Linked DNA regions of Homo sapiens: region 1 is linked to region 2. The links are contacts of gene promoters, found by promoter capture Hi-C in human tissues and cell types (Jung and others, 2019). All regions are on one chromosome and are shown on one strand. Each heading gives the region's core, a stretch centred on a gene start or on the middle of the fragment in contact. The rest is flanking DNA. Distances are from core to core; before and after follow the strand shown. Region 1 holds the start of ATL3 (atlastin GTPase 3). Region 2 overlaps PLAAT3 (phospholipase A and acyltransferase 3).

What was found. Contacts are between HindIII fragments. The study calls those that stand out against the background at their distance.
Region 1: a contact is called between the fragment with the promoter of ATL3 here and a fragment that was not itself captured in region 2, in 2 of the 25 tissues and cell types used here (bladder and pancreas).

What each region holds. Positions count from the first base shown.
Region 1 is chr11:63,670,072-63,672,771 of GRCh38, reverse strand. ATL3 (atlastin GTPase 3) reads left to right here and starts at 1,396. Exons shown (of 13, transcript NM_015459.5): 1 at 1,396-1,482. The coding sequence starts at 1,437. RefSeq lists enhancers at 880-989, 1,030-1,529, 1,530-2,031 and silencers at 1,080-1,199, 1,520-1,579, 1,610-1,869. The HindIII fragment of the contact is 6,643 bases long and covers 1-2,700 here.
Region 2 is chr11:63,594,235-63,596,934 of GRCh38, reverse strand. The region is part of intron 3 of PLAAT3 (phospholipase A and acyltransferase 3); the gene reads left to right. Among named protein-coding and RNA genes, the nearest start is that of PLAAT3, 19 kb to the left of the region's middle. The HindIII fragment of the contact is 6,558 bases long and covers 1-2,700 here.

The DNA.
Region 1 (2,700 bases), core at 147-2,646, 76 kb before region 2:
AGTCTTTTTTTTTTTTTTTTTTTTTGAGATGGAGTCTTGCTCTTTCTCCCAGGCTGGAGTGCAGTGGTGCCATCTCCACTCAATGCAACCTCTCCTGCCTCAGCCTCCCGAGTAGCTGGGATTACAGGCGCCTGCCACCACGCCTGGTTAATTTTTTGTATTTTTAGAAGAGATGGGGTTTCACCATGTTAGCCTGGCTGGTCTTGAACTCCCGACCTCAGGTGATCCAACCACCTCAGCCTCCCAAAGTGCTGGGATTACAGGCGTGAGCCACCGCGCCTGGCCAAGTGGTATGAAGTCTTTTGGAGAAAAGTAATGCAGGGAAAAGGAGCAGAGAATGCTGGGATGTGCGTGCAAGTTTTTTTTTTTTTTTTTTGATGGAGTTTTGCTCCTGTTGCCTACGCTGGTGTGCAATGGTGCGATCTCGGCTCACTGCAACCTCCGCCTCCTGGGTTCAAGCGATTCTCCTGTTCAGCCTCTGGACTAGCTGGGATTACAAGCGTGCGCCACTACGCCTGGCTAATTTCGTATTTTTAGTAGAGACGGGGATTCTCCATGTTGGTCAGGCTGGTCTCGAACGCCCACGACCTCAGGTGATCCACCCGCCTCGGCCTCCCAAAGTGCTGGGATTACAGGCGTGAGGCACGGCGCCCGGCCTGGACTTCTTACATTAGCTATCAGAGCGGTGATGGTGCGCATCAGCCATGGCCAGGGACAGGAATATAGGGAGATGATAATAAAGGTGGTAATGAAGTCACGGCCACCTGCCCTTATGAAGTCAAAATCATTAAAGACCCAGTGACGTTCATGCCATCCAGGGTTGAGGCCTCTCTTCTGCCCACCTGTGGTCCCAGGCCTAGTTAAACACCAAAGCTGTCTCTCACACTGGTGGTTCCAGGATAAAGCCTCGGCCTGGGGCCTGGTCTGCACGTTAGGCGCCGGCCGCAGCTCGCAGGAGGACCCGAGCCAGCCCGCCCCTTCCCGCACAGCCTGCTGGGAGTTGTAGTTCAGTCGTCGGAGAACCACGCCAAGCCCCGCCCCAGATGAGTGCGCAGTATGAGGACCGCTGGCCGGGACCCAGTGAGCGCGGGACTACAATTCCCAAAGGACGGTAGCACTCAGCGCCCCGCCAACAGGTACCCGGCGGCTCGCTTCGCGCACACGCGGCAGGCGGTGGCGGGATTCTGCCGCGTGCGCTTTCCCGCCCCGCCTCGCCTAGCCTCGTCCTGCGCTCGCCACGCCTCGGGCTGTCCGTTGGGCCACGCAGACCGCGCTGCGCTCGCTCCGTCGCGGCTCCGCGTGCCCCACCTTCTGGCTAGTTTTTTCTAGAGCCCAGGCTCCGCCCGTTTCCCGCTTCCAGGGCCCGGTTCGTTCCCGCCCGCACCCGTCCCTCTCCTCTGCACCCCTGCTGCTTCTGCTTTGAAGGCGGAGGCTCCATGTTGTCCCCTCAGCGAGTGGCAGCAGCTGCCTCAAGAGGAGCAGGTGAGGCGCCGATTTTCCCTGGATCGCCCCGCGGCCACCCCCGCCGCCTTCCCTGCTGTAGTTCTGAAAAGAACCCCCGCCCGCGCCGCCGCCCTTCCTCGTCCCGGGGCTGGGACCGCGCGTCCCTCGCCGGGGTCACTCGGTTTCCGAATTTGTGGTGGGGGGGCCCCTCTTCGGGCCCAGCTGGTCCAGCGAGGGCGGCACCTTCCTTACTTTTCGGCCGGGGGCGGCCGCCGTCAGGGCTCGGGCCCTGGTGCCGCCGGGGGCTCCTCCAGCTCCTCCCCTGGGCTGCAGCTGCCCCTGGGCGGCCCAAGGGCCGGTGGTCCCCGTGGGCGGCGTCCGGAGCTTCGGCCCCGCCGAGCCCCGCCCTGGGCAGAGCCGGGCGCCCCAGGGCGCTGCCCCTCCGTGCCCGGGCACTCAGCGCCCTCTCTGGTCGGAGAATCGGGGCCTGGATGGAGCGGGAAGGTGAATGCTGGTTTATTTGGCCTTTCTGGAAGTGCTGGAAGGCTGCGAAGTGTCTTGGAAGCTTTATTTTTATCCTAACGACCTTGAGGCACTGACCACAAGTATTAGGAAAGTTGGTTTTCAACCCATACTTAACGCTGTAAAGAATTGGTCTAAATTGGTTTTTCGTAAGTTAGTGCTTTTGGCACAGTACGTTGTTCTTTTGCTTTCCCGAAGACATGAAACATAGTGAAAGTATTAAAAACCAAATAAGGAGTCACCGTGTATTCACGGATCTGATTTAGTCTGTCATTTTACTTGGCTTTATTCTAGTGTAATGTGTGTGCTGTTGAAATGACCGTTTCACTTGCGAAATCGAAGAGCAAAAAGGAAAAGAACAGTGAAGAATTTTTAAATGAGTCTCAGTTCTCAAATTCAAATACGAAGCAATGGAACGTTTTGTCAGTCTTAGAATAACGGACCAAAAATGTACGATTTCACATATTGGCTTACTTTTGGAGATTTAAGAAGCATAACCTACGGAGTACTAATCCCTGTCAAGAATTTAGCATTGCAACATAGGTACTGAAATTCAAATTAGTGCTTTTTTTTTTCCATTCCCACAGAGATTAGCTTGTACTCCAGAAATTCCTGTTGCCGCTCTAACACCTGTAAACACTTGGCTGAGAAGGATCTCAGTATTGCAGTAGTCCAGCACATTGTTTTATTATTATTTTTTGAGACGGAGTTTTGCTCTGGTCACCCAGGCTGGAG
Region 2 (2,700 bases), core at 117-2,616:
TAGTAGAGATGGATTTTCATCATATTGGTCAGGCTGGTCTTGAACTCTGGACCTCGGGAGATCCACCTGCCTCAGCCTCCCAAAGTGCTGGGATTACAGACATGAGCCACCATGTCCGGAGTGCCACACTTCTAAACCATCAGATCTTGTGAGAACTCACTCATTATCATGAGAACAGCATGAGGGAAATCTCGCTCATGATTCAGTCACCTCCCATATAGTCCCTCCCCTGACACATGGGGATTACAGTTTGACATGAGATTTGGGTGGGGATACAGAGCCAAACCATATCACTCCTTATGAGAATCTAATGCCTGATGATCTGTCACTGTCACCCGTCACCCCAGAAGGGACCATCTAGTTGCAGGAAAACAAGCTCAGGGCTCCTACTGATTCTGCATTATCGTCAGTTGTATGATTATTTCATTATATATTACAATGTAATAATAATAGAAATAAAGTACACAATAAATGTCATGTGCTTGAATCATCCCGAAACCATCCCTCCCCACTGCCGAGTCCATGGAAAAATTGTCTTCCACAAAACCAGTCCCTGGTGCTAAAAAGGTTGGGGACCGCTGCTGTAGAGGGACCAAGGTGGCATCTGAGGACGAAGCTCTGTTTTGATGTGTTTTTTATGCCGTGACTTTGTATGCAACACACTCAACTCTTTTTTTTTTTTTTTTTTTTTTTTTTTGACAGAGTCTCGCTCTGTCGCCCAGGCTGGAGTGTAGTGGCGCGATCTCGGCTCACTGCAAGCTCTGCCTCCGGGTTCACGCCGTTCTCCTGCCTCAGGCTCCTGAGTAGCTGGGACTACAGGCACCTGGCACCACCCCTGGCTAATTTTTTGTATTTTTAGTAGAGACGGGGTTTCACTGTGTTAGCCAGGATGGTCTCGATCTCCTGACCTCGTGATCCGCCTTCCTTGGCCTCCCACAGTGCTGGGATTACAGGCGTGAGCCACTGTGCCCGGCCGCAACACACTCAACTCTTAAGCGTAAAGCTCCTGGGAAGAGTGCAGGTGTTTGGGCAGAGAGACTTGGTTATGAATCCAGTTTCCATTCTTCAGCCTTGATTTCCTTTTTTGCAAACTGAGGATATGAATACTTAACTTGGAGAACTCTTGTGAGAATTCCTCACCCTTCTCTTAAGCCTTTAACTTAAACTGGGGTATAACATAAGTATTGTAAAATGTACAAGCATAGTAAAGTATACAGTCAGTGAATTAAAAAAAACCATCCATGTAACAGTGCCCCAGATCCACATCTAGAACATTCCCACTGTGCCACTTACCCTGAAAGGCTCTCTCATGCTTCTACAATATGCCTCCCCACGCCTCGCCCAGGCAACCATCATTCTAGCTTTTCCTGCCATAGATGAGTTTTGCCTGTTCTAGAACTTCATGGAAGAGGTATCACACGGCCCGTGCTCTTTTGTGTCTGGCTTCTTTTAGCCAACATCATGCCCATGTGAGTCATCCATGCTGCTGTGAGTAGCAGGAATTCTTTTTCACTGCTGTGTATTTTCTGTTATATGAATATGCTACAATTTAGCATCCATTTTTCTGACATCAGACTCATTGCAGGTTTTGACTGCTATGAATAGAGCTGTTATAGACACTCTTTTTTTTTTTTTTTTTTTTCCGAGACGGAGTCTTGCTCTGTGGCCCAGGCTGGAGTGCAGGGGCATGATCTTGGCTCACTGCAACCTCCACCTCCTGCTTTTAAGCGAGTCTCCTGCCTCAGCCTCTGGAGTAGCTGGGATTACAGGCACGCACCACCATGCCCAGCTAATTTTTGTATTTTTAGTAGAGATGGGATTTCACCATGTTGGCCAGGCTGGTCTCAAACCCCTGACCTCAAGTGATCTGCCTGCCTCGGCCTCCCAAAGTGCTGAGATTACAGGCGTGAGCCACCGCGCACGGCCCTTGAACATGTCTTTTGCATATCGTTTTAATTCTAACTAGTGGCCTCACCCTATCAGTAGTAACCAGAGTAGATGTCATCTTCCCCACCCTGAGCCCCTTACCCATGTACCCCCACCCCCTCCTCTTCCTTTCATAAGCACTTTGCTCCTCAAATTCCCCACCTCCTTCTGTATTGTCATCTTCTCCCTTTCAACTGGATCATTCGTATTGACATAGAGACAGCTGTAATATATCCCGTTGATCAAACGCCCGGCCTCACATCCTTCTCTGCTTAACGCCCTACAGAGCAGATCTCATTACAGCTTTGTCTGCCTGGCCACCTCCGGTTCCTCGCTTCCCATTCTGCCTTCCATCCCCTATACCCACACTTTCTTTTTTCTTTTTCTTTTTTTCTTTTTTTTGAGATGGAGTTTTGCTCTCAGACTCTCTTTTTTTGCCCCCCTGACAGAGCAGTTCTCAAGGGTAGGGAAAAGCTTCCACATCTTGCCAAAGCTTAAAGCCAAGTCCCATCACAGCTGACTTGGCTTCTCTGCAGCATTTGATGTGAGTGACCTTCCTGCTCTCCACCTGGCACCTGACTTTCTTCCTCTCCCTCTGGGCCCTTCTTTTTTGGTCTCTTGTGTGGGCTCCTCCTCCTCTCTCATTTCCCTAAATCGAGCTCAGATGACCTCATTGGATTCCTTAGCTTCCAATACCTTCTATTTGTCAATATCTCCTAAGCCCAAACCCTCAATTTACATCCCCCTTCAGCTTCAGACTTGCATAACCTCTTG